Regions from separate parts of the Homo sapiens genome. Here regions 1, 2, 3, 4 and 5 are each linked to region 6. The links are contacts of gene promoters, found by promoter capture Hi-C in blood cells and fetal thymus (Javierre and others, 2016). All regions are on one chromosome and are shown on one strand. Each heading gives the region's core, a stretch centred on a gene start or on the middle of the fragment in contact. The rest is flanking DNA. Distances are from core to core; before and after follow the strand shown.

Region 1 (4,415 bases), core at 1,560-4,059, 310 kb after region 6:
GTGCTTGGATGGAAGGCTTAGGACCTTAGCCTAGTGCCTAGAAATGGCTGATCTTCTAGTGAGTTAATAGGTCTCAACTACAGTTAAAGTTAAAATGACCCCGACTAGCTTTTGAGACTACCTAAAGGACCCATTTGGTTCTGATCTGCCATGGACCAATACTTTGTAAAACACAATAAATAGAAAATGCCAAATTTTGTTAAACCCACACCCTAGCAAACAAAGGGGAAGAAATACATGGTTCGTTGGAAGAACATACAGGTGACAGGTGACGACTACAAATGTACAATGATAGTTATCTAGAGGTAACTGAGGTACATGTTAATGTTCTTGTACAGAATGACTATTGTGCATATAGTGCTTAATGTACTGAGTTCTTCATGTGACAAATAAGCTTGTTTAACCTACTGAATCTAGGTTGGAGTGATAGCAATGCTACTCAGAGGAAAACAACCAAAAGGCTTTGTTTTAATAGCTTTCACAGCAGAGGCCAATCTCACATCCCTCAGAAGTATGTTGACCAGAACAGAAGAATTTAAAGCTATTGTAGCAGAATTGGGGTATATTTAACTTTTAAAATGAAGTAATGCTTTATTTTAAACTCATCTCTAATCCTTCATCACCATCTAGTTACAATGGCTTATCTTAGAAGGCTACAGTTATCTTCCTGAAAAGCAAATGGATTCCAGATGTGAATTTTTCCTATACATAAATCTTTTGATGGAAAGCAAAATCCAATGTTCTAATTCAAAAGGTATGTCTTGTAGATGTGCAATATCAACTACTGATTTATACCATGTGAAGTTATGTAACTTCTATTTTTGAAACACTTAAGTTATCTAGTCTCTGCTTTTCTCTATCTCTTCAATATTACCCAAGGGAAAAGAACCTGGATGGGTTAATGAGACTAGGAACAACTCATGGCACATATGTAGTTAACCCTTCTAGAGAGAACTGCCCTCATGAGTTTTATGGTACTTGTTTTACTTCATGAATGTATATGGAAGGATTGCTCACTGAGTGGGCTTACGTTACTCAATGGTAGAAGACTTGCTCAGCCTAGTTCGGGGGCCCACTTCCAGCTTTGGTCCTCTGATTCAGTGAAACAAAGCTTGTCTGATCTTGATTTCAGGTGTAGTTCCCAATTACTTTCAGAACCCCATGGGGAAAGTGAGGTGAATGGTACCTCAGACACTTAAGCCCTGAATTTCTATGGCAGTCTTGCTGTGGCACACTACCTGCATATTGCTGATGGCCTCATATCCAGGGCTCCACACTGGCATGTAAAAGGTACAGGCCAGTCTGAGGGTCTTCAAAGGCTTTCTAGGTTCCCTGAAAGTGTGGCATTAGGAGCAACAGGATCAGACTCCCCCCGCCCCCAGCCGCCCCCTCCTCCCCTACCCCGCCACGGAGAGGAGTACCACTATCAGGGCAAGACAAACGTGGAACTCGGCCAGGTCCTGCTCCGTATGGAAGTGAGTGTCTTGGGCAGTGGGGTCTCAGAAGCTGTTTGATAGAATCTCTAGGTAAGCCTCTCCTCCCACACATGCTAGTTTGGCACACAATGGTCCTGACTTCCTGAGACAGATGAGTGTCTATAATTTTGGTCTAATGAGAAGGTCCTGGGACATTAAGCATCTTCAGGTTTCACAGTGAGAATTGCAGATGGTGTTCACAGCTTTCCCATACAATACTGAAGTCATTTGTCTAGATGTACTGAGTCCAAACTAGGGATTGCTTGAAGGAAAGACTTTCTCTAAGGTCTTCATTTCGTTTGGTGGGAATGTCAGATTGGGTGGGTTACACTAAGGGAAGAAATGAACTGCTTCTAGCAATACCTCTGTGGTGAAGTCTGGGGAGGAGAAATTAGAGTGGCAAGATAACAGATAGTTGGAAGTCTCTCACTGCTTTCCCGGAAGAAGTAGCAAACATTTTGAGGGGTGAGAGGAACTTCCCAGCACAGGGTTAGAGGAGCTCTTAAACACAGGTAAATTTCAGGAAGCTTTGTGAATTTGACTATGGGGCTGTGGCTGGATTCTTGCTCAGCTCCAATCTTAAATAGAAGGCAACCCTTTACCAGTAGGATCTAGGGAATTTTGGCCAACTTTGTCAATTCTGACCCTGAGCATAATTTTGGGGGGGGTTTCCAAGGTATATGGATGAGTCTGCCTTGGATTAGATTCTGCATCTCGGCCTGTGGTTAGGGGAGTGCTGAATGTAGGCCTGGGGAATGCATTTAAAGGCAATCAATACTAGCAGGGGTAGGAAGAACAACTTCTATGGTGTCAGTTTGGATCCTTTGTAGTTAAGTGCAAGAGACTCAGTGGGGGTAATACTTGGGGTGGGGGGTGGAAGGGAGTTGGAATAGGAGCAGCAAGGGAGAATCTTCAGGTCTTACAGGTGTAACACCTGTGCAAGGAACCAGGGAAGGGAAGAACAGGTAGAGCCCCTGCCCTGCAATATGGGTCTGCAATAGTCTCAGCCAGGTCAAGTAAGTTCAGTACCTTTTCCAAGATGGACCCTTCCTGGTGGGTGTTAATGTGAGACACACAGCTCCACACTTCATACATAGCCTTACTATGTCCATCCACATTCCTCTACCCAAATCTTGTCTCTGACCGTTCAGTCCTTTGTTCCAGGCTGCTGACTGGAAAGTGATGCCATTGAACCACCTATGTATATGTGCATTCTCATCTTGGGCCCTTTGTGATACAAAGTAGCTGACCAGGTATACTGCTTGTGGAACCCGACCCGTTGGGAACCAGGCCAGACACTTGGTTGAACTTGTAGTGCTTTAATTATCCTCTAGTATCTAATTTCGTCATGGGCTAGAATGCAGAATTGAACAGATAAGGACCACCAACCATATTTGCTTGATACTTAAGCATGGCACTAATGTTGACCATCCCCTACAGGGGTGCAATACTTGTGACTTAATATCTTGGCTGGGGTAGGGACAGTTTCAGAAGTTTCTAACTGGCCCTGCTGTGATGCTGTTACTTCACATGGCTAGGGACCCAACGTAGGGATTTATTCAAATGACAAGCACATCAATTTCAATTGTGTACTCAGGGGAAATATTTCTGGGTGGGTCTTCGGACCTAGTGGACCAACTGTCAGCCAAACATCTGCAAGAACTCCATTTCCTCAGTCTGTACTAGGGTATAATTTAAAGCTGCAATCTATTTCTCAAATGGAAGATAGTTGTAACTCCTGTGTGTGTGTACTTTAACTTGTGGCCATAATGCTCTGGGTGTCTAGATGGCAATGTCAACTCAGTTGCTATGCCCGATGGTTCACGAATTCTTTAGTTCAGTGTATATTAACATGGATGTCTGCAGAGGGAGACTTGCTAAGAACCCTTGTCTGCTCAGCTAACCAGGTCCTCCAGCTATATCTCAAGGTCTTGACATGAGAACCCCTGCTTCTGGGAGCACCGGAAGGTAGAACTGTATCTGAGTAACTTCAGTGTGGCAATAACAATCTGGTTAACCCTAAAGGTGTTCCCAAAGTTGGTAATGGGAGGTAGGGTCAGGGAATGAAAGCATAAAGTAAACCTTACTGCTGCTCTGTGAAAGGGGAAGTCTAGAAAAAGCATCGTCCGTATACATGGAACAAAGCTTAAGAAAACTTGCAGCTTGGTTTTGCCAGTACCAAGCTGAGGGAGGGGAGCAGATTCTTACAAGAGTGTCAGCACTTACCTAATGGGTCAGGGAAGACACTGCGTAGTGTTATACAAGACAGTAACATGGTCAGACTGGTATGTTCAACATAGCAACATCTCAAGTAGGAAAACTGACTTTGGGGATTGGAATAGGTGTCATAAGAGTGGGTAGTAATAGACATGATCAGCTTCCAGGCTTCTGGTATGGGCACTGCTGTGTGGTAGTGCCACTAATAGAGGATACAATAGAAGAACAAATCTGGGAGGGGAAAAGTGAGTTGTTACTGTCCTACCTAACCTTAGGATTTAGATCTGGTATAAACCTAGCTTATGATGGGGAGCTCCAGTTTGGGATATTACTTGGTGCGAAATGTTCAGGACTCAGTCTCCCCTGGGGTCTAATAGTTTTAAGTCATGGCCTATTTCTCAAATGCAGAATAGTTCTGTCATAGATCGTGCCTTGCAGTAGAAACCTAGGGTTTTATGTTTGGATTTTCCAGAGGTGTCATGTGGCATCTTCATGCATCACAATTACTTCCAGCACCATGTTAGATCACCTAGCCCAAGCAGTAGGGCACCTTTATGCTGCAACCTGCAACTACTACAGGTATGCTTTTCTCCTGAACTTAAGGATCAGTAAGCTCACTAGATGGTTTTAGAACCATGGCACTTCTCAAGGTATGGACAACATTCTCAGGATGTACCCCTTGTATGGTGCCCTGCTCCTCATGAAGAAAACTCAAACTGCGTT
Region 2 (4,303 bases), core at 918-3,417, 360 kb before region 6:
TCAGTAGCAGTGTAGGTCATGAGAAGTCATTAGAAAAGGTAGAGCAATTTAGGCTTTGCTGATGGGTTCAATATATAATGTGAGAGAGATCCCTTTAAGATTTTTGGTGTTTATGAAGGTGCTTTTTAGTGTAGGTAGTTGTTAAATTGGTGCCCTCACAGGGGGCATTGGGGGATGATGGGTGGAGCCTTCTATTCTGCCGCCTTGCTCCACCCCAAGTCAGTAGTGTTTTTTTAGGGCATGATAAATTGAATATTCTAAAGGTGATTATGGTGATGGTTCTACAACTCTGTGAATATACTAAAAACCATTTAATTGTACATTTTATCTTATTTTATTTTTGAGACGGAGTCTCCCTCTGTTGCCCAGGCTGGAGTGCAGTGGCATGATCTCTGCTCACTGCAACCTCTGCCTCCTAGATTCAAGCAATTTTCCTGCCTCAGCCTCCTGAGTAGTTGGGATTACAGGCATGCACCACCACTCCCAGCTAATTTTCATATTTTTAGTAGAGCCAGGGTTTCACCAGGCTGGTCTCGAACTCTTGACCTCAGGTGATCTGCCCGCCTGAGCCTCCCAAAGTGCTGGGATTACAGGCGTGAGCCACTGCAACCAGCCTGAATTGTACATTTTAAAAGGGGAAACTTTATGGTATGTAAATTACATCTCAATAAAGCTGTTGGAAAAAAAGAAAAGGAGGAGGTGGTCAGAGACTGAGATGCTTAAAATTGAGATTAGGGAAGATTTCCACATTGGCAATAACAAGAGCTAGAGTCTGACCATGGAAGTTGAGTAGCCAAGATGGCTTGGAGGAGGAGTCAAGGAAGACAGAGGCCCAAGTACTGGAAGGACATCTGTGAGGATATGGGTGTCACTAAGAATGGTGGCAAAAGTCATGTTGGTGAGAGGTCTGACAGTGAGCTGGGGGGAAAATCTTCACCAAGTCAGGAGTGACCTGAGAGTTTGCAGATGACTACAACAAGGAAGCATGGCAGGTAGGAATCTGATAGCAGGATGTTCCAACTGGGTGTGGGTAGAAAAAATGTTCTGAAATTTGAATATTGGTGAAGGACTTAAAAAAAACTTCAAGTATTAAGGGCCTACTCTACTTTTCCTTTATTAATTAATTCATTCATGCAACATGTATTTGTTCTTTTGGGGACACCATTATCTACTCATTTGGCCATATCTGCAGATGCTCCCAAACATGGTGGAGCTGGCTTTTGATGGCCAGAATCCCAGATTCTGTTATAATAATCTCCTTTCAATGAGTTCCCCAAGGACCTATTACCCACTAGTATAGTGGAGGGCTGTTCTGATCAGTATGCAGCCTTTCCTTGATCACTGTCATCATATTGGCCATCATTGTTTAGTTACACTAATATAGTATATGGCTTTATGTTTCTTAGGCTGTAGGGAGCTGCCTGTTTTAGAATTAGATGGAAGAAGTTGTGATAAGCTTTGCCTTTGGACAGATCTGGGTTTAAATCTTAGCTCTGCTATTTATAACTTCATAACTTCGGGAAACTTAATATTGCTGAGTCTTAGTTTCTTATCTACAAAATATTTACCTCATAAATATTGGTGAGAATTAAATAACATGTGTGTGTCAAACTCCAAACAGATAGTAGGCACAACCAGAGATGTTAGTTCTCTTTCCTTTCCCTTGTTTTCCTTCCTTCACCTTTATGTTAATGTTGCTTCTGCTATTTTATTTCTAGCTTCTATCATGTCCAGGGTCTGGGTTCTGATCAGAAGCCTTCCTCTAGGGATGGTTGAAATTATCAAGCCAACTTCCAGATTGGCATAGAGTCACTCTGATTGTTTACTTTAGTGTGCCATGTTATGCTTCTCAAGGTGTTTTATAAAATGTTTCTAATCTTACTCTTTAATACTGTGAGGTATATAAGTGAGGCATTAGTATTCCTAATTTATGGAAGAGAATATAAGATACTGAAAGTAGCTAACATTTATTGGGCATTTATTAAATATCATTTTTCTAAATGTTTTACATCCATTAACTAACTTAATCCTCGCAGCAATTCTATGAAATAGGTATTATTAACTTTATCTCACAGGAAGGGAAACAGGCACAGAGAGGTCAAATAATGTGTTGAAGGTCACATAACTTCTAAGCATGGGGGCCAGATTTGAACCCAGGCAGTCTGGTTACAAAACTTAACCAATATATGGCCTCTAATGTAAGACAAGTAAACAAATTGTGTGGGGGTTGCAAGTGAAGAAATCCTTTTACCAGTTACTGCTCAGGTATCTTTCTGGCCTCTGAGATGGAGTTTCGCTCTTTCACCCAGGCTGGAGTGCAGTGGTTCAATCTCAGCTCACTGCAACTTCCATCTTCCGGGTTCAAGCCATTCTTCTGCCTCAGCCTTCCAAGTAGCTGGTATTACAGGGGTGCGGCACCATGCCCGGCTAATTTTCGTATTTTTAGCTGAGACAGGGTTTCGCCATGTTGGCCTGGCTGGTCTTGAACTCCTGACCTGAGGTGATCCACCCACTTCAGACTCCCAAAATGCTGGGATTACAGGCGTGAGCCACAGCACCCGGCCTGGCCTCTGGAATCTGATGGAGATGGAAAATGTTGGTAGCTCACTGTGGTCACTAATAGAACACTATTGTTATCTTCAGCAGGAGGGAGGCATTCCATACCTCCTGCATGAGTTTTATTACCCTGTTTCCTTCTAGCTCAGCCACCCTTGAGAATTCTTTTGCTGAGACAAACAAGACAATCCCTCTGAGATAGTAGCAATAATTGCCACCCTTGTCCTATTTTAGTTCTGCTTGTTGCAAGCCAAGTTCTAATATTAAAGCCAGTACTAAAAAATCATAAACTTTCTCAATATCATAAGTCTAAACACGTAGGGGAAGCTTTGGAAAACTTTAGGAAACAAATAATTCATGAGGTCAAAATCAATCTCATAATGAACAAGTAGATTTTTTTCTTTGGAAGCGGAAGAATATCTGGCCTAAGATCGAACCATTGGACACTCATGAAACTTATCTTAGAACAGTGAAACTATCTAGTCAGTCACATTGTGGATTATTTACTAAGTGCTAGAAATCTCATAGTTAAAGCATTTCATCAGGAGTAGATGATCAAATATTTAAAATATCAAGAGATTTGTTATTTTTCTTCTTGCTGGCACTGATTTAGTTTCTAACCACTAGAATTTCTCCCAGACCAGGAGTAGGGAAAAAAAGAGAAGAGAAAACTAAAGCCTAACTATTTTAGTATGTTAATAACTTTGATATGAATCTGATGAAGAAAGAGTTGAAAATTATTAGCTAAAATGAGATAGGGCATGTGTGTGCCTATATGTATATTTAACTATTGCCCTGTGAGCCCTATTCTATTTGAATTGGCAATAAAAAGTGGACTTACCTTATATACTTGTAAAATGCATGAAATACATATACAATTTGTTGACTTATTTATTTTCTAAAGACTCAGTCTCTCCACTGATGTAGTTACTGAAAAGAAGTTCTCTTTTCCTTATTTGTAAAACGTTTTACATATACATCCCCTATATGTACGTTATAATAGATGTTCTACACAGATATGCATATTGCATATACATATTATGTTTCCATGAATAAATACAGCAGAATTTCAGTCTAAGGAATGAAAAGATTATGACTTAAACATAAACCAACTGGAGCAATTCAAAGGGTCTTTCTTAAGAACATGGAATAAACGTGCTAAGATGGCTGAAATTATTTAAAGAATTAGGTAAAATATACATAAATTCCTTTAAATTTAAAGAAAATTTTTAAAATTAAATAAAATATAAATGAATGCCTCAGTCTTTGATCTGAATGCAGCAGAAAAAGGGGATTGAGGCATGGCTGGGGGCCAGCTAGCCTTGGCCTCTTGCTCTCTGAATGGCCCTGGTCCATCCCCTCTTTGAAGCTGAGTAGAGTTCACTGGGCTGAGGCATACAATAACGGCAGGGGCTTGGGGAATTCATAAGAGGGAAAAAAGTCGCACTGCACTTTCTGAGAAGGCCGGGATTCACATATGTGGGCGCACACACACACACACACACACACACCAGGAAATGGAGAGTATTGCCCTTGTCACAGAATAGGCATTCTTATGGCCCCTCCACACATTTCAAGAGACTTTGAGAAACTAGTTTGGGGCTGGAACTGTCTCCCATGCCCTTTCTAAGATCTGAGAGCCCAGTGCCCAATTTAGGAGAGTTCAAACACCAGGAACACAAAAGACTCAATTTGGAGTGCAGCGGCCTCTTGTCTGTCAATCCTGTTTGCTGAACCTGCTCCTCCT
Region 3 (4,698 bases), core at 1,629-4,128, 450 kb before region 6:
TCAGTGTTATTGGAGTACAGTAAGCGAGAGAGTAGTATGAGAAATGGAAAGGTAGGCTGAGGTCAGATCACATAAGGCCTTGCAGGCTGTGGAAAGGACCTTGGACTGGATCTAAATGCAGGGTGTGAGGGTAGATCGCACCAAGAGTCTTTCTCTATTCATGGTGAAATGGACAGACCCATGGCAGGTACTTAAACCCTGGGAGGTTTTTAGTACTGGCTCTTAAAGCCACCTTCTTCCTCCCTCTCATGTACATTTCTAAGGTACTTCCTGGGTCTACAACAGGACAGGGCTTTCCAAAAGACAACTGTTAACCAAAAGACAACTGTCAACATCATAGTAACTTAGGGAATGATGCACAAAGAAACAGTAAATACTCTCTTTGCTGTTGGGAGAGTTTTCCCCCTCCACCCCATAACTCTTGATCTCTTGGGTTATTTTTCACTCTCAATTGACAAGACTTCCTGGGTTGCTTTTATCACCGTACTGTCAGTAACTTGACTGAGGTCCTGCTCTGTAACAGGCATGCTAGCTCATGTAAGCATTGCAAAACTCTGGGAAGTCCTATAGGTGGAGAGACTGGACTCTTGCTGAAGGTCATAAAACTACTAAGGTACACATCTAAGACCTTTTTAACTTTCAGCCTGAAAAATTTCTTTCAAAGTAAAAACTGCGTTGTCACTTTGTGATGCCAAAGAACCCTTCCATCTATGTTACCCCATATCTTGATAAACTGGTAAAAAAAAAAAAAAAAAGTGGAATGCATGAACTGTGTGCAACAGTCAGTCAACTTGGTGGCATCCTTAAGGTGCCCTGCTCGGTGAAATGGCGGCGGTGGGGGATGCACATCTACTTCTATTAACACTGGGAGTTCAACTGGGCTCTCTGCATCTTCCCAGGTGCTGCTTCCTGCTGCTTTTTACTTCTGCTAGACTCTGACCACTCTGGTTGTTTGGGTGGGGTATATCCCATCACATGGATAGGCCATGAAAAAACCTCAACCCCCAAGGCCTGGTACTCAAGGAGAAATACTAGACGAACATTAGATGGTTTAAAGCTAACAGGGACTGAAACCAGTTAAAAGAGGGAATCAGACATAAGTTGCAAACTGATAGAACAATGATCTGCTGGGGCACATGAGGTTCATGCCTCCCGACATGCTGATGAGCCCCGGTTATGAGCTGGGCACCACAACTGATGGTCTTTTATGAAGGAGTGCTCTTTACACCAAACTTTATCTCATTTTGGTTGTCCCTTTCTAGCCCTTGCTTAGTTCAAAATGTAGTACATCTGCTGTGCTCATCCAGCTTCATCTACTGCTGAGTTGGCTGTGTCCACGCTCAATCTGTCTGCTCTGGTTTCATGATGGTCACTAGCATTCACTTTCCCTGCAAGGCCTACTCGCCGGCTTTCCTAATAGTACACTCTCTTGGCACGATCCTGGGAACTTCACGTACAGTTGTTACCCTCAAAGCCATTGCTACCTGCTAGGGTCTTGGTTCAATTGGCCTCATCTCTCACTCATTCTTGGTTCCTGGAAACCTGGTACAGACAGATCCTAGTATTCTAAAGATCTCAAAATTTAAAAATCATTGTGACATGAATTTGAAGTCAAAACCCAGGCAATTTAAGTGGAAATAAGCATTCTTCAGGTTAGTCAAAGTGCTTAGCACTTTGTATATTAAAGTGTATCCTGAGCCACACATTTGCTAGAAGGTAAGAAGAAAAATTGGACTCTAGAATCAATTGCCTTTCTCTTTTCCTTTGAAAAGTTAAAATTTTTAATGAAAGAAGTTGTGTGGGTACAATGTAAGCTTTTATCATCTTGCATGTGTCCTCTGAGAGGTTCACATTTTTGAGGCCTTGTCTCATGGAAACTGGGAAATGAGCTTCTGGAATTCAGACCCAGGATCTGGCTGCATTCCAGAAATAAATATACATGTTGGGCGTTGAGATAGACAATTAAAAGAATAGGAGAGTGTGCAAACTTTTGAGAATGAGAAGGCAGAAAATAGACTCTTTTCTCTCATGCTTTGCTTTTGCTTTTGTTTATTTTTTATATTTTTACTTTTGAGTATCAGCTAGTGAGTAGCAGGGCAAAAACAAGGCAGCCATTGATCTAAGTGTAAGGCAGCAGGAGGAAGGTTAAGAGAATGAGTGTTATTCTTTAGGACTACATTCATAGTTGCATGGTGTTGCTCTTGGCTCAAAGTCTACAATTAAATCAGTTGTTGGCACTCCCTTGAAAGCATTACTATCACAGTTTCCCCTACATATGTAAGTCAATAAATTTGACCTTTAAGAAGGACAGTTGGTGTAGACCCCCTCCACTGGGCCAACACATATTGCAAATTTCTGAACTCAGGCCCTGCAAAGTACTACTGCCACCTTGCTTCTTTAACAGAGAAGGCAAAATAAACAGAGGAGGATTCCATGGTATAAAAAAGAAAAAAATACATTATTTATATTTAAATAAATAAAATTATTTATAGAGCATTATTTATATGTGTCAGTCTGCTGTGGGTCAGGTACTATGTTAGATTCTTTTATTTATTATTTTGTGGAATGAGATTTGTTTTTATATATGAGGAAAGAGGTTTTTCATAAAAGATGGAGCCAAGATTTAAAGCTAACTCATTTCATTCATTAGTTATCATATTTAGTCAACACATCATTTATTGAGTGCCTAAAATCTGACAGCACTGGGAAACAACAGAAGATGAGGTCACTGCACCCTAAAGGAGCATGTTCTCGTTTTTTCTTCTTATACCACTGCAACTGACCCGTCCACATTTCCTCACCTTCATTTCTGTGTGCATTGGCTGGACTTCCAGCTGTCAGCATCTGCAATTCTTTGCTTGGAAGCCCTTTGCCACAGTAATGACACCAAGAGCAACCCTCCATGACCAACTGGAGTTGGTACGTAAGCAGCTTAGTTCTTTCATCTCTCAGATGGGATGACTCTAAGGTGTATGTTTTCCACTAGCACCTAGAATTTCTTCAGAATCCAACTCCAGTTGCCCACAGTTGTAGCTGGCTTGATCAAACATCTATGTCAGCTGCCTTCCCTTTTCTACCTCATGTTCCCACTTCCTTGTCAGCTTTCTTTACCCCCAGGTAAACTACTTGCATTTGAAGTCTTGTCTCAGGGTCTGTTTCTGAGGAAATCCAAACTAAGATGACCACCATTTAGAGAATGCTTACTAAGGGATAGCCAGACCCTAAAGACTAATGTAGATCTATCTGTTTCCAAAATCTGTGATCTTTGGAGCATTGCACTGTACTATGGAATTCAAGCGGAAGGAATCCCATAGAATCTTACACTTAATCTTTTCTTGGGTACTAAGGAAAGTGGAAATCCATCCCTAGACAGGATATTTTGTAGTTCTCTCTTTCGGTCTTCACCCTCTCATGGGATGGGTGTGTTTTCTCTTTTCTCCACAGAATTGACTGAAAAGTCTCATTCTGCTTTTATCATCACTTCATTTCTCTGAATGAATCAAGCATCTCTGAATGAAATCAAGATTTTCTCCCTCCCGTCTGAGAGTAGGATCCACTCTCTTGTTCTATAGGTTCTCTTTTGTTCTATAGGTTAAGGGTTAAGGAAAATGTGACCCCCTTGAACAGAATAGATAGAGAAAATTATTCATTTGGGGATCTCTGAGGAGAGAAATTCTTTTCTAGAATTTTATTTATATTGCTTCTTTTCTTACTCAACTTATACTACAACATAGACTAAAAAGAAAAGTGGATACATAACTGTTTTTTTAAGTCCAGAATATTTGACAATATAATGTGGTAATGGTGTGAAGTTTTACACCTAAGCAGGCAATAGAATATGACACAGTTTCCGACCTACCCTGCCCTTGAAATAACAGAATAACTTTTTAACACTAACATGCGTTTCCTTGAATAACTTGTACCTCTGCCAAATTCCACACAAGAAGCTTCTTTTCTTCAGGGGCTGCTTCCCCACAATGTGAATATTCTTTGACTCACTATGTTGTCCATTTCCAATTTCCTTGTTTTTTGCTTGAGTTCACTGAAGACTGACAAACAGTAGCTTCACGTGACAGCCATTAGTCTGCTTTAAACCTCAGCTTGATCTTGAATGGATAGAATAATGAATAGATTTTGTGTCATATAATTCATGTTGTCAGTTATATGAAATTGGCAGTTAAAGAGAAACTAAATATGCTTCCAGTCCTCTCTTTTCTAAATTCATATTTGAATATAATAATGTGAAAGGCATTGTTCCTTCTTTTAGTTAAAGCATTTTTGTAGCAGTCTGAACTGTGAATAATAGAGAAACATATGCTCTATTAAAAAATAGAAGGTGAGGAAGATAAGTGTTTTACTCTTTGTATTAAGAATTAACAAGTGGTTTTAAAAATTGAGCTTGTATGTGTGTGTGAGCACAGGGAGGGGTATTTCATCATAATGAGGGAGGCCTTGGCAACTTAGTGTTCGTTTTAACTCCATTGATTGCCGAACACATTCATGCCTGCTCTAGCTCCAGGGAGGCTGTGGAACAGGAAATAAGAGATTCAAAAAGCAGCACAGAAGAAAATCATCTCCTCTCCTTCCATCTCCCAAGCAGAGAAAAATATGCTTTCTTTTTTGTCAAAATTGCTTGGTTTGTCCTATTATGCTGTCATTTCAGAGAGATTAAAAGTATACTTTTTCATACATTGCAAG
Region 4 (4,617 bases), core at 409-2,908, 410 kb before region 6:
CAGTCTGATTTGTTGTGGACAGCCAGTTTCCCATCTGACATGCAGAAAAGGCAGGGGGTTTGCAAAGGGAGTAGCTTCTGGTCTTTTTGTATTTTTTTTTCTTTTTTTTAGTAGAGACGGGAGTTTTCACCATGTTAGCCAGGATGGTCTCAATCTCCTGACCTCGTGATCTGCCTGTCTCGGCCTGTCAAAGTGCTGGGATTACAGGTGTGAGCCACCGCACCCGGCTGCTTCTGGTCCTTTTATTACTTAGGCATGAAAAGTTAGGGTTTTCCTTTCAATTTAGTCCTAGGAAGTTGGCGTGAAACAGCCTTAGGTTCCCTGCCTCCAGACCCTATTCTCCTGCCTCAGTTGAATTGTATTTCAGCAATTGAAATCAGCTAATCGAGGACAGACACCTCATATATGTTACCCACCTACTCTCCCTAATATGTAGAATGCCTATATATAAAAATAATAGCAAGAAACAATAATTACAACTTATTGACACCATGTGTGCCCTGTACTAGCATCACCTCCATTTTATGTGGGAAAGAACTGTGTTGGAGGGTGAAGTCACTAGCCCATATTACACAAGTCTTTTAACTACAGAGTCAGCTTTCTTAACCACTGGAGCCCATTGGGGTTGGAATAAGGCTTTGGAATATCTTCTGGGGTTAACGGGGGAATTCTTGAAAGTTTTCTCAATAGGAAAGTCACGAAAAAGTGGTATCGCTGCTGGAAGGCAGGATGGTTTGGCAACTTTTGAACTGTGGTCTGACTGTGAAGTGATAAGAGTCTGAATTAATATGCTCAATTAGAGTCAAAAGGAGAGGCAAGATGGAAGACTCCCTGAGAAGGAATGGGTGATCCTTGAGACATGGGCACTGACCAGATGTGGGAATTAGGGAAAGGAGGGAGTCAAAGATGAATCCAAGATCTCCAGAGTAGTGTTAGAATGCTTGTGCCATGAATAGAAATGGGGAAATAGGAGATTAAGCCAATTTGGAAAGACTTCTTGGCCTGTGTTGGTGGCAGGGCACTGCCCCACAAAGCATACTGGTTAGTGGGAAATGTGGCAGCTCTTTCTTCATTGTCAGAGCCTTTGTTTTACTACACAGAAGCTTAAAACGCTGGATGCTTGCTTTCCTAGACTCCCTTGCATGTGACTGAGATCCAGTCATGAGGCACAGGTGGATACTTATTGGAAAGATTTTTCTCTCTGATAATAAAAAGTCTAGCAAGAAAAACCTCTTCCTGCTTTGGGTTTCAAATGCAAGGATACCATGATGTCATGCGAGGAGCTGCTGCAGCCATTTTGCAGTCTTGAGGGACAGACCAAGAAAATTAGGGGAAGCTGACTCAGAGCCCTGACACTGGGGAGCCCCTGAAACAACACCAGGACCGTCTGCCTCTCTTATGTGAAAAAAGCACCCCCCAACCCTGGTCAAGCCATTTTTAGATGAGTTATTTTGTGATTTGCAGCCAGAGCATCCAAATTGATGCAGACTTTGTGCAGGTCACAGATCACCTTGATCTGAGCTTTGCTGTGTTTTCTATTTTGGATATTAATTTTGGAAAAACACCATGTGGGAAATGATCATCACAATTGCCCACTGAAGCCTCCAAAATAGTAAGAGTTCCAGAAAGAGAGAGAGAGAATGCACTTTGGATACCATTTCTAGAAAATGAGGGCTTTTTAACAAAAGTCTGTAAAGGCCGAACAGCCTGGCCCAGATCTTAGGCCCGCTTTGCTGCTAGGTGAGAGCCTCTGTTAGGTTTCAATAGTGCAATGTGCTTCTCAAATGACAACGGGGCCCATTAGTAAATTAAACATTCCCATAGCCCCTAGATACAAACTGGGCGAAAGAAGTATTTTCCGTTTTCAGAACTGCTGCTCTTTTCATTTGCTTCTTCCCACCTTCCTTGACATTTGCTGGTGTCTGCTGCCAGGAAGGCATGTTTAGCTCAGTGATGGATGTGCACTAATGAGAATTAGCCTGCTTTGTGGAGCTTTTGAATCAGAGCAAGTATGCTGTTCTGAAGGGCTGAATGACTGGTTGATTGAAAAGTAATTGATTGCAGAATTTCAAAATGAGATTCAAAAGGTACATTACAAACTAGATTTCACAAAAGCCAACTTTCTTTGTCATGTTCTTCTTTTCGGTCATTTTATCCTTTTTAAGTTTACAAAATTATTTTAGAATTTAGTACCAACTTCACCATCTGATTCCTGAAGCTTGGGGTATTATATACATATAAAGTTTATGATAAATTCTCATGATAAGGAAAAAAAACCCTATGCTACATAGATTCTAGTCCTGACTCCGCATTAATAACTGCCACTCAGGGAAAATTGTTTAACTTTTCTGAGCTCCCATTGTTGTTGATAAAAATGTTTGAATAAATCATGCATGAGATCCTATACACGTGAACTTAGACTTTCTATGGTAAGACACAGATTCTCATATTCTACATGGTATTGGGCTGGGGGTCTTCCCTATGCTCCTCTCTGAGAAAACACTCCTGCAGACAGAGAGCAGGCAAAGAAGCCTCTTGCTAGAGGAGTAATCTCAACAAAATTTGGTTTTGATCGTGGGATTCTGGGTGGAGATGCTAGATAAAAGATGATGCAGTTGGGCACGGTGGCTCACGTCTATAATCCTAGCACTTTGGGAGGCCAAGGTGGGTGAATCACCTGAGGTCAGGAGTTCGACACCAACCTGACCAGCATGGTGAAACCCCATCTCTACTAAAAATACAAAAATTAGCTGGCCATGGTGGTGGGTGTCTGTAATCTCAGCTACTCGGGAGGCTGAGGCAGGAGAATTGCTTGAACTCGAGAGGCGGCGGTTGCAGTGAGCCAAGATCGTGCCACTGCACTCCAGCCTGGGCAGCAACAGGAGTGAAACTCCATCTCAAAAAAAAAAAAAAAAAAAAAAAATGCCTAGTTACATTTGAATTTCAGATAAACAAGGATTTTATTTTTAGTATAAGTATGTCCCAAACATTGCATGTGGTATATTTATACTAAAACATTATTCATTGTCTAGTTGAAATTTGAATTTAGCTGGGAGTCCTGTATTTGTATTGGCTAACTCTGGCAACCCTGATTCTGAGAGGAATAATTGATGGTAATGGCCTGAGCCTAAATTGCTCAAAATAAGCAAAGAGGAGCTGCAGAGGATTCTTAGGTCTTGATAGATATGGTGTCCTGGGAGGGGCTGAGTAGGTTCGGCTAAAGGTGAGGGGAGTGAAGGGACTAAGATACATATTAGGAGCCTGGCTAGGACGAGAACCCTCCCTCCTTTCTTCCTCACGCATTCTTAAGTATCTCCTCTACCCACTTTGCTTTTATAAACCTTAATTAGCTTTAACGTAAAGTGAAAATATTGGCCGGGTGTGGTGGCTCATGCCTGTAATCCCAACATTTTGGGAGGCCAAGGTGGGCGGATCACAAGGTCAGGAGTTCGAGACCAGCCTGGCCAACATGGTGAAAGCCTGTCTCTACTAAAAATACAAAAATTAGCCGGGCATGGTGGTGGCCACCTGTAATCCCAGCTACTCAGGAGACTGAGGCAGGAGAATCGTTTGAAACCGGAAGGCAGAGGTTGCAGTGAGCTGAGATTATGCCACTGCACTCCAGCTTGGGCAACAAGAGTGAAACTCCATCTCAAAATAAATAAATAAAGTGAAAAGATTAACTTTCTATGATAGGCTGTCGTTTTGGCATCCTTTTTACGGTCCTTGTTCCTAATTTTGAAATGAGTGGGTGGACCTTATTTTTCTCATTCTCCCTGCTCACGGCCCCCTCCCTAATTCAATTAATATCTGCTGGTGTGTGCCCCAGATTGATTTTTTTTTTTTTTGCCCTCTGTGGACTAGTTATTTCTCAACAGAAAAATGATTGCCAAATTTCTGAAATTCTTTTCTAAACTTCTGAACCTTTTCAGGTGTTATTTATGCTCATCATTCAGTTGTTTGTACATTCTTCACTCACATAGCAAATCTTTAGGAAGTAAAAGAATTGCACTAGGGTTTTACCCTGGTATGTAGCTGTGTGGAGCACTTCAGAGGCAGAATTAACATTGTGCGCTACTAGTTTTATTCCTGTTTGTCAAACAAGATCACTTAACACCTCTGCATTGGGTAACCATGCTTTCCCATGAAGCGAGAGGACTGCTGAGCTTGAGCAATGGCGGGGACCTCTCCCAGATGGTAAGTGTTTTAGGGCACAAGGTCATTATATTAAAAGTAGCAAGAGAATGAACGGGAATCAGGCGGAACATACTGATACTGACACATGTGTGGCACAAGAAATTGCTAAGGTAGGTGCCTGATCGTAAGGGGGTGTCCCCTCCAAATATTGGCACTTGAAAGCAGCCACAAAACCTGGTATTTTAGTTATTTATCCTGAGGGTGAGTAGTGGGAGGGACCTTTCGTGGTACCCTCTGTGTGGTGCTTGCTGTGGTCCTTGTGTTGTAGCCTTTGATGTCCAATGTGCAAGATACAGAATTTGGCAAATAGAGGTCGTTTGTCAAGGTTGGTTCTAAAGGGGCTGCCTAAGTTTGTCATCTATGCAACATAATTCAAAGGCCTGTTCTGTTAAAAAACAAACAAACAAACAAACTCTTAAC
Region 5 (4,261 bases), core at 989-3,488, 380 kb before region 6:
GCTTGAACCCAAGAGGTAGAAGTTGCAGTGAGCTGAGATCACGCCTCTGCACTCCAGCCTGGGTGACAGAGCAAAACTCTGTCTAAAAAAAAAAAAAAAAAAAAAAATTAGCTGGATGTTGTGGCATGTGCCTGTAGTCCTAACTACTCAGGAGCCTGAGGCAGAAGGATCAGTTGAGTCCAGGAGGTTGAGGCTACAGTGAGCCAAGATGGTGCCACTGCATTCCAGCCTGGATGACATAATGAGAACTTGTCTGAAAAAAAAAAGGAAGGAAGGAAGAAAATGAAAACCAAACAAGAGAAGAGAGGCTGATTCCATGATTTTCAACACAATAGAAATTTCCATTGTTCTCTGAGATTCCCTTGGGCTCTGGTCTTCAGAATGTTATTGTTATTATTATTATTTCCTTTAGAACTTCTAATGAGCACATTGACCATTGCTTCCAGGTTTTCGAATTGTCCTTTGCCCTTAAACTCCTCAGTGGCTTGGGTTTTATTCCAATAGAGCAGAGGATATGAAATATTTCTTGGTTAATGTTTCTGGGTTTGCAGTATCAGTCAGTGACCAGAGTTGGATTTTACGTCTAAAAACCATATAAACTCAAGCCGAGACTTGTCTGGGTGTAGACTTCCCATTGCCAAATTTAATTTTATTATTTAAAGTCATGTTGAGAAGTCATGTAGGTGGTCTTTCTTCTAAGCTAGGACAGACTTATCAGTCTCACTTGCCTGGTACTACTTTATGAGGTAAATAATTAATTTGAGATATTAGGCATAAGCTGGTCTTGATCTGTTCTCAAACTCCAGGTGGGTAGAAAGCTCAACTGTTGACACAGGGCCTGGCATGGGAAATGATTACATGGGAAGCCATGTCTGATAACCAGAAATGATACTTCATAATAACACAAAGATAATGAGAGAGATTGGGAGTCAGGTTAGTGTGTGAAACTAGCAGTAGACCGAGAGGGAAAGTGGGTTGTGATCCTTCTTTGAAGTCACCACAGAGTCTTTCTGCTCCTTCACCCACTATGGTTAGTGAATGACCAAGGATACTGACTTTACCTCCTACTATTACTCAAATGTATATCTCTTCTCCGTCATTTCTCCTGTTCAGTTCCTCTTTCTCTCTAGCCTGGTCAATTGCAATATCTTTGTAACATGTTTTCTAGACTGTAATATTGCTCCTATTATCCATCCTTCCAACTAGGAAAGTAATATTCCTGAAGTCCAAATCATGCCATGTCCCTACCTTATTAGTTCTCTGTGTTGAGATCAGATGAAGCTATAGGCAGAGATGCTCTTATGACATGAAGGACTGGGGTTCCCTTGTAAGACCATCAGAATTTGCCCTATCTAAGCCCCTACTCAGGAGCCTAGAGGAATCCCTGAACTGAATGGTCTGAGTCAGCTGATACTCTCAGATAACAGCACTTTGCTCATAATATATGAAAACAGGAGCATGATTTAGAAAAAAAAAAGGAACCAAAATCACCAGCTAATAGATATTATGCAATAAGCACATTACAGAAACACAAAGTCCTGGTGTACATCACCAGGGCAGTCCCTGAGGACAGTCTAGCCAATAACTACACTTAAGTTGGGTCTCCAGATCTGATTTTCTAAGTTTCTGATCCTGGATCCTTTCATAAATTATAGCTGCTACCTCCAATCCCACCCCAAGTCTCATGAACAGGAAATCTGTGAAAAAGTTTTACAGGGAGGTTTGAGAACTCCCTCTGAGCTAGCCAATCCAGAGTCTTGCTTTCAGCCAAGCTTCCATCATACCCAGATTTTAATGATGAGTTATTTATGTTCTCACTTAAGGAAATCCTTTCCTACCCTTTGGAACTTCTATTTATCTTGTTATTAAAACTGTCTTCAAATAGATTTCCTGCTGCAATACAACACACTTGGTGACTTTCTCAGTCTTACAATGGGATTAGATATTTAGTGCTGAAAGGATCATTGCAAGGAGAGCAATCAGGTTTCTTCTCAGTGACAACTGCTTGGTCTTCTTTGCTGTAAAAGAACTTTGCTTTGAGCTTTGATACATGGAAAATGTCTGCCAGAGGCCCTGGTGAGAAAGAGTCCGTGTGTCTGCCCATCTTGGGTCATACCCTTGTCATCCAGGAACTAACAAGTCACCCCAGTTTACATGCAGTTGGCATTGGATGGGTGTAGGCAAATCACCTGGACTATCAAAGATACAGTGTCTAAAAAAGGCTCACTTCCTCCCTATCCCAGGTGGTAACACTGCATCGCAAGTACAGGGCATCCCAAATACAGAACATCCCTAACCCTGCATGCCCAGGGCACTGTTCTCAGCTCTGCTGGTCTGACCAGGTAGTTTCACAGAATTCTTGCTTGGTTAACTTGTAGTTTTTTGACATGATGTGCTAGATAGGTAAGATTTAGGATTCTTATCCATGTAAATGAAACTTAAAAAGAATTTCTCCTGATTGAGTTGCTTAGGGTTTTTGTTTGTTTGTTTGGTATATATATATATATATATAAAGGGGATGTTAGGGCTGTAGTCAGTGGCTGATTATTTGAAAATTTCTTCAACAATATGGGTTCTGTTCTGCTAATTCTCAGACCAATGAGGGCCTGTGTATGCTAGCAGAGAGAGGAAAAGACTAGGGTTTTCAGATTAGGACTCTGGGCCAGAATTTGTTACCATGTGACCTTGGACCACTCATTTAACCAAAGCTTCCCAGCCATTCCCCGTGGAAAGGAAGTGGATTGAATGACCTCCCGGTAGCCTCACCGGGATATTGCGGCTGCAGCAGAGCAAGGGCTGCATATAGAAGAGGAACATGAAGACTTTTTCCTTACAAAGTAAATGATATGAATTGACTGTGGTAAAGTTTCTAAATCAGATTTTTTTTAGTCCAGAGGGACAGCTTTTAAAATGAGAGATTTATTTAAGTTATAAGGAAATATCTGTCAACCCTCAGAAATTGCAAGATGATTATTTTGGTTGTGTGTGTGTATGTGTGTGTGTATTCCTAGTGGAGGGTGAGAGCTTGACTCTTAAGAATCATATAAAATATCAAATTATCTCAACTTCTGATAAATAGGGGGAAAGACAGACATTTTGGGGAGGTTCAAACCTCTATAATTCTTTAGGCATTTAACCCCCCAAGAGCAGGGACTACATTTATTCATTCGTAGTGTCCTCCACTCCATATCAGCATCTGGCACCTAATATGCACTCCATAAATCTTTGTTGTGGTTGAATGAGATCATTTTCCCCATGTCTTTGAAAGACAGAGGCAAAAACAGAGTGTTCTCATTAATGGACAGGGTTTTATTTCATTTTCTTTCCCCTCCCCCCTCCTTCCTTTTTGCCTGTCTGCCTGCCTGCCTTCCTTCCTTCCTTCTTTCCTTCCTTCCTACCTTCCTTCCTTCCTACCTTCTTCCTTCCTTCCTTCCTTCTTGCCTGCTTGCCTGCCTGCCTGCCTGCCTGTGTTAAATAATCTGAATGATTTCAAAGAATCAAAAATGGCTGTTCACATTTGGTAGGGTTCTACGGAGCTTATCTAACATATTTCTAAATGAGTACTGTAACACATCTGGGGCCAGGCACCCAAGCCTGTTCCTGTGTACTCTCTCATTTGCCTAGAAAACATAAATACTGATACAGGTCAGGGAAGCAAACTCTTGAGGGCTGTATTAAAATTCTTTTTATTGCAAGCGATGTAAACTCAATGAAGCAAAAAGAAGATATTTATTGAACCAGTACAAAAAGCGCAAGGGCATAGAGATTACATACCCTAGAGATCACTGGAAGTGGAACAAGAATGGAGCTAGGAGTCTCCTTCTCCTAACACTGCCTCTCTCTGCTTGTTTTCTTCATTCACACCACAGTCTGGGTACACAGCTGGTGAAGCCTCAAGATGCGGCATAGCCTTGCCCTTGGAAGAGAACTGAGAGCTACTCTCTGGTTGTAAGTGAAGAAATCCCAGCAAAGGCTTCTGGTTGGTTAGGCTTAGGCCACATGCCCACCTGGGTGGCCAGTGAAACACTATGGTTGGGAAAACCTTAGAATCACTGACTGTAGACGGGAGGGCTATTCCCTTAAAGGAGGGATGCCTTTCCTAGAAAGGAGGGTGCTGGATAAACAAAGTGCATCTCTAGGGGTCAGGGAGTAGTCATAGAAACTATGGACCAAAAGATAGCATTTGCTGACCAAGAGGCCCCAGTTTACTCCTAAATGTTCAGAGGGTGCATTTAACTTCAGTGACTTCAATCAATTCTGT
Region 6 (4,889 bases), core at 286-2,785:
TCTTTGGGCCCACTGCTGCTCTCCTCACTGCCATCACTCTCCTGGTCCACAAAGTCATCCAGATCTTGGAGGGACAGCTGACAACGAATGCTGCGAAAGACAGTCAATGAAGGGTTCCCCGCCCAGGATTCCCAGGACTCATCCGGAACAACAGGAAAGAGAGAGTGCGAGGAAAGACAGGGGTCTGGCGGCTCTGAATTAGGCTCCGTGGAGCCGGGTTCCAAGGGCAGCTGGAGGAAGTTGTCTGGCAGCACCGACCAGGCGCGGATAGGGCCCTGATCACGGGCCTCGGGCACCTGCGGGTGCCTGGCCACCCACTCTCGAGTGCGCTGCTGCTGCTGCTGCAGGGTCGAATAATGCAGGGAGCTGGGGGTCAGCAGCTCCGGCCGGTCTCCGCGGGGAGCGGGGCCGGGCAGGAGAGCAGGCGGGGAAGCCCTGCTTGTCGCAGCCTCGACGGTGGCGGGAGGCGAGTGAGCCACTGCAGGCACAGGCGCCGGCTCAGCTAGCGCGCCTTCTTCCCGCTCCCTGGAAGCCCCGCGGTCATCCTGGGCAGGCAGAGCCCGTGCCGGCTTCTCCTCCGCGGTGGCCGAGTGCGGGAGTGCGCCGAGCTCTCCCGGCAGTACAGCCAGGTTGTTCTGGAGGCATTCCCAGCAGCAGCGGCCCTGCGTCTTCGCCGCCGCGCAGCTCGCTCTCGCCTGGGCCCCTGCCGCTGCAGCTGCGGGCACCGGCGGCCTCTGTCCGGGACTGCCCTTCGATCCGCCGCCCTTCCCGGGCGCCCTACGGGAGTCGCTGCCCGGGAGTCCATTGCAAGCTGCGTCGGCGGCTCTGGCTGCTGCACCTGCTGGCTCCTCCTCCGGCTCCTTCTCGCGCCGCCGCCGCCTGGGCTGCTGCTGGGGCGGCTCCCCCCGGCGCGCGCCTCGCGGGGAGCAGGGCGCAGCTCCCCCTGCACTGGGGGCGGCCGCGGGCGGCTCGCGGGGTCGCTGCAGCCCCTCCTCCCCCAAAAGGTCCCTGTATCTCCTCTTGAGCACCACGTACTTGGTGCCGTCGGGGTCCTGGCGCACTGCGGCGACCGAGTTGACGAAGCCCTTGAAGAGCTCGCGGCGGTGCTGGTGCTGGCTGGGGGACGCGTCGGGGTCTCGGAGAAAGCTCTTGAAGTGGCTCAGCAAGGCAGCGTTGGTCACGCGGCCCCCAGCCTGGCACAGAAAGTCCAGTAGTGCCTCCTGGCTCAGCTCTCGGGCCATCGCTGCCTTGTCCTCCGCCCCAGAGGTGTCTGAGTCTCGCCCTCCCGGGGCTCTCCCCAGCCAGAGGAAACCCTGGCCGGGCGAGTGTCACCTGCGCCCGGGGCGGCACTAGCCGCCCCCATCAGCCGCGGAGGCCAGCGCTGCCCGCAGCCCGTGAGCGCGCCAGGAGGGCCGTGGGTCCCCTCCGGGTGGCCCCAAGGCTGAGTCCCCGCGGCAGTCTGCGTGAGAGAGGGCGGCTCCGAGGCCGCCCCTGCGCGACTCTAGCCTCTCGCAACGAGTCCTCACAGCGAAAGTTCCCGGGATAGGGCCGAGTCGGTTTCACCTGCGCCCTGGCGGCACCTCCTCCCTGCCTCTGGGGGAAGGGTCAGGCCCGCCTCCTCGTGTCCCTCCGCCCCCTGAGGTCTCCCCCACCCCCTGCCACCCATCCCAGAAGAGTCAGGCCGGAGAGCCAGCCGGTAGGTGAGGTTGGCGGCGAACCGAGCCGGCAGCGAACTGCTCTGCGGCCGGGGAAGTGGAAGGCAGGTAGGCGACCGGCCGTTCCTCTAAGTCTCCGCCACGCAGGAAACAAAAGCGATAGAAGGTCCGTTCCTGTCCTCCGGTGCTTTGATGAGTTCAGGCTGAAGCCGATGGGGGAGGAGGAGAAGCTGCAAGTTAACAGGCAATCTGAGTTATCTTTCTTTATTAACGCTGTAGAGGAGTACTTCAGATTTCTCGAGGCTGTATTGAGGTCCGCAAAACTCACTTTGCATCCAAACTAAATTTTTCTTAATATAGAAATACTTTCTGGGCCGCTTCTCCGGCGCCCCCTCCAAGGGGTCCGAATACATCCAAGTCTATACTGAAAAGAGAAATCACTCTGAAAATTACTACTGGGCAATATTGGTTTGGGACTTTTTCTTTCATACTTGTCTTTCCTTCATACTTGTCTCACATTAAGGTGCTGGAAAAAAAAAATCACTTTGATAGCTTCTTGCCCCCGGCGGCTAAAATGAACTAGGAATTATGTCTCGCCAGTTAAGGTATTTGATGTGTAGCATTAGTTTGCTTTTATTTACTCTAAAATTTGTGAACAGCAGAGATTTGTACAGTGTTTTGTATTGGCTTGGTGAAGTGCTTCCTTTCAGAATGTAAGGTTCAAAATGCAGACTAGAGCTGTCTTTAACAGCACCTTTTCCCCCTAACAGCTGGGATCCCTCTTCCTTTTTCTCTCTCCACATGTTGACCCTTCTGTCTTTGATGTGAGATCCTGGATGTCCCTCACTGTTCCTTATCAGTCCTGTTGACATGCCTGAGATAGTTTTCACTGTCATTATCTCTTTACCTGTTTTAGTTCCAAGCCTTCTCTCATTCTTTTCTTTAACTTGGCCTTCCCATTTCTTTCTGTTACACGACATCCTTGTTTACCTTCGGCCTCTACTGACAGGAAATATGTCTGTTTCTCAGATCCTCTCATGTCCACTGTATTTCCCATTCAAAAACCTCGATTTTCTCCTTCCCTGTAATTTGCCTCTCTTTTCTCATGGACTCTTCTCATCTTTTCACTTTTCCTTTTGCTCTTCTATTTCTGATTACTCATAGTTCCTATACTTCTCGCCAAGAAAGAGTATTGAAAGTATGTGTGTTGGCCCTACAATTGTTGACAAAGACATGTTTTAGCATGGACCAATCTTAGTGACTGCCCTATAGACCACATTAACTGAGCTTGATTTTAAATCCCCAAAAATACCCTAGCACTTTTCCAGGAATGAATCTTTGGTTTTACATTATCTAGGTCAGAAAAAAAGAACTGGAAACATTTTTGTCTATTTTTGGCATTTTCTAGGATCCAAACCCAATACTGGGTTGAGAGAGGGATAGTGGTTTTCACTGATGTCTCTACATAACATCAAGCCTTTAGGATAGTTTTTAAAATTAAGGTTTTGTATTAAATTTCAGCTTTCTTTTGAGTTTATTTGCTGGTATAGAGTCTTGTTGGGACTGAGTAAGGTGAGTCCATACCTAAGGCAGGAGGAACACCAAATGAAAGACTCAAGTGGGCATTTTAGAATGGCAAGTGGAAAGAATCCCTCTTTGCTACTTTTTAAAACATCTGGTTACAAAATAAGGGGCTAACTGCAAAAGAGAGCCATAATATGGACTGAGGTTTCGACTCAAAGGAAATAAAAAGACTAGAGTGAAAGAAAGTGGAGGGCCAGGTGAGGGGAGATTATAAAGCATCTGTTTGTTGAAATCAGATCATTTTTAGTTGAGGGTGGAATTAATAGGATTGGAGCCAAAAAGAAGAAAAAAAAATCTGATTGCTTTAGATTTCTGGATTCCCAGGTACTTTGGTGTCCAGACCTTCTCCTCTCTCTCTCTCTTGTCCCAGGATAAAGAGGTGGTTAATTGGAAAGCTCTTTACATTATCTCAGGGAGAATTTTCCTGCCTCCCACATATACAGTTCATTATTTCCAAAAATATTTATGAAGCTCCTACATTACCCTGACACTGTTGGAAATGGGTATAAAGAAGAAAGTGTACTTGAGAATTCACTATTTCTCTCTATTTAGTAAGGAGCAACAAGAGAAATGGCATGAACCTGAGTGCTAAGTGATTTAACAGAGACATGCACCACATACTGGTGAAGTTGAGGGGAGGTGCATAAAGGAAGAACTCAGGCTCAGCTTGGGGGATCAGGACAATTTTCCAGTAAGAGCTAACTTTGGGGCTGGGCGCGGTGGCTCACAGCTGTAATCCCAGCAGTTTGGGAGGCTGAGGCGGGCGGATCACGAGGTCAGGAGATCGAGACCATTCTGGCTAACATGGTGAAACCCCATCTCTACTAAAAATACAAAAAAATTAGCCGGGCGTGGTGGCGGGCGCCTGTAGTCCCAGCTACTCGGGAGGCTGAGGCAGGAGAATGGCGTGAACCCGGGAGGCGGAGCTTGCAGTGAGCCGAGATCGCGCCACTGTACTCCAGCCTGGGCGACAGAGCGAGACTCCGTCTCAAAAAAAAAAAAAACAAAAAAAAAAAAAACAAAAAAAAAAAACAAACAAAGAAAGAAAAGAAAAGAGCTAACTTTGAGTAAAAAGGTGAGAATAGGCTTTAAGGCAGAAAAAACATTGGTGCGAAGGCAAAGAGCTGGCTTAGCATCGCTATTTGGGGAATGAACTGCCAATAGATCTGCTTGGCCTGTTTGGCTTTAAGGAAGACGATGTGTGTGGATGTGCTGGAAAGGGAAAAAGTAGATGGGAATCAGAAGATGAAGGGCTTTGGGGGCAGGGGCGGCTTGGAAGAATTTTCCCAAGGGTAGCAACCTGACCAGATTTGTACTTTAGAAAGATCTCCTGGAAGTAAGTGTTGGTTTGGAATCATGACCAATATTAATAAGTAAAAAGAGTACATTGTAGAACAATGTTGTATGTAACCAAACCTAAGAACCATTGATTGTATGACACATTGTGATTTTAGAGATGTTAAAATATGGAAAAAAGTTCCTCCTAAAATAGAATATGGCATAGAGAAATATGGCATGTGTAATAAGATCCTATTTTTAGAAAAAAACTATGTGTATATGTATTTGGGGGTAAAATTTAAGGACTGGATACGGGGTGACTTTAATTTTTTTAAATAGCCTTATAAACTATTTTACAATGAGAATATATTA

Evidence for each region. Contacts are between HindIII fragments. The CHiCAGO score rates a contact against its expected background, and 5 or more counts as called.
Region 1: a fragment that was not itself captured here is called in contact with the fragment with the promoter of SOWAHB in region 6 in 1 of 17 cell types (activated CD4 T cells); the score reaches 5.6 in activated CD4 T cells.
Region 2: a fragment that was not itself captured here is called in contact with the fragment with the promoter of SOWAHB in region 6 in 2 of 17 cell types (M1 macrophages and M2 macrophages); the score reaches 5.6 in M1 macrophages.
Region 3: a fragment that was not itself captured here is called in contact with the fragment with the promoter of SOWAHB in region 6 in 1 of 17 cell types (M1 macrophages); the score reaches 6.6 in M1 macrophages.
Region 4: a contact is called between a fragment that was not itself captured here and the fragment with the promoter of SOWAHB in region 6, in 3 of 17 cell types (megakaryocytes, endothelial precursors and M2 macrophages). The highest score is 6.3, in megakaryocytes.
Region 5: a contact is called between a fragment that was not itself captured here and the fragment with the promoter of SOWAHB in region 6, in 2 of 17 cell types (M2 macrophages and endothelial precursors). The highest score is 6.4, in M2 macrophages.

What each region holds. Positions count from the first base shown.
Region 1 is chr4:77,204,129-77,208,543 of GRCh38, forward strand. No RefSeq gene overlaps it. Among named protein-coding and RNA genes, the nearest start is that of CCNG2, 49 kb to the left of the region's middle. The HindIII fragment of the contact is 1,618 bases long and covers 2,001-3,618 here.
Region 2 is chr4:76,537,584-76,541,886 of GRCh38, forward strand. All of the region lies in intron 1 of SHROOM3 (shroom family member 3), which reads left to right. Among named protein-coding and RNA genes, the nearest start is that of MIR4450, 34 kb to the right of the region's middle. The HindIII fragment of the contact is 1,427 bases long and covers 1,455-2,881 here.
Region 3 is chr4:76,445,588-76,450,285 of GRCh38, forward strand. The region is part of intron 1 of SHROOM3 (shroom family member 3); the gene reads left to right. Among named protein-coding and RNA genes, the nearest start is that of SHROOM3, 13 kb to the left of the region's middle. The HindIII fragment of the contact is 2,133 bases long and covers 1,813-3,945 here.
Region 4 is chr4:76,490,326-76,494,942 of GRCh38, forward strand. The region is part of intron 1 of SHROOM3 (shroom family member 3); the gene reads left to right. Among named protein-coding and RNA genes, the nearest start is that of SHROOM3, 57 kb to the left of the region's middle. The HindIII fragment of the contact is 1,115 bases long and covers 1,102-2,216 here.
Region 5 is chr4:76,515,130-76,519,390 of GRCh38, forward strand. All of the region lies in intron 1 of SHROOM3 (shroom family member 3), which reads left to right. Among named protein-coding and RNA genes, the nearest start is that of MIR4450, 56 kb to the right of the region's middle. The HindIII fragment of the contact is 936 bases long and covers 1,771-2,706 here.
Region 6 is chr4:76,896,609-76,901,497 of GRCh38, forward strand. SOWAHB (sosondowah ankyrin repeat domain family member B) reads right to left here and starts at 1,536. Exons shown (of 1, transcript NM_001029870.3): 1 at 1-1,536. The coding sequence starts at 1,241. RefSeq lists silencers at 887-996, 1,257-1,556, 1,627-1,696. The HindIII fragment of the contact is 5,905 bases long and covers 1-4,889 here.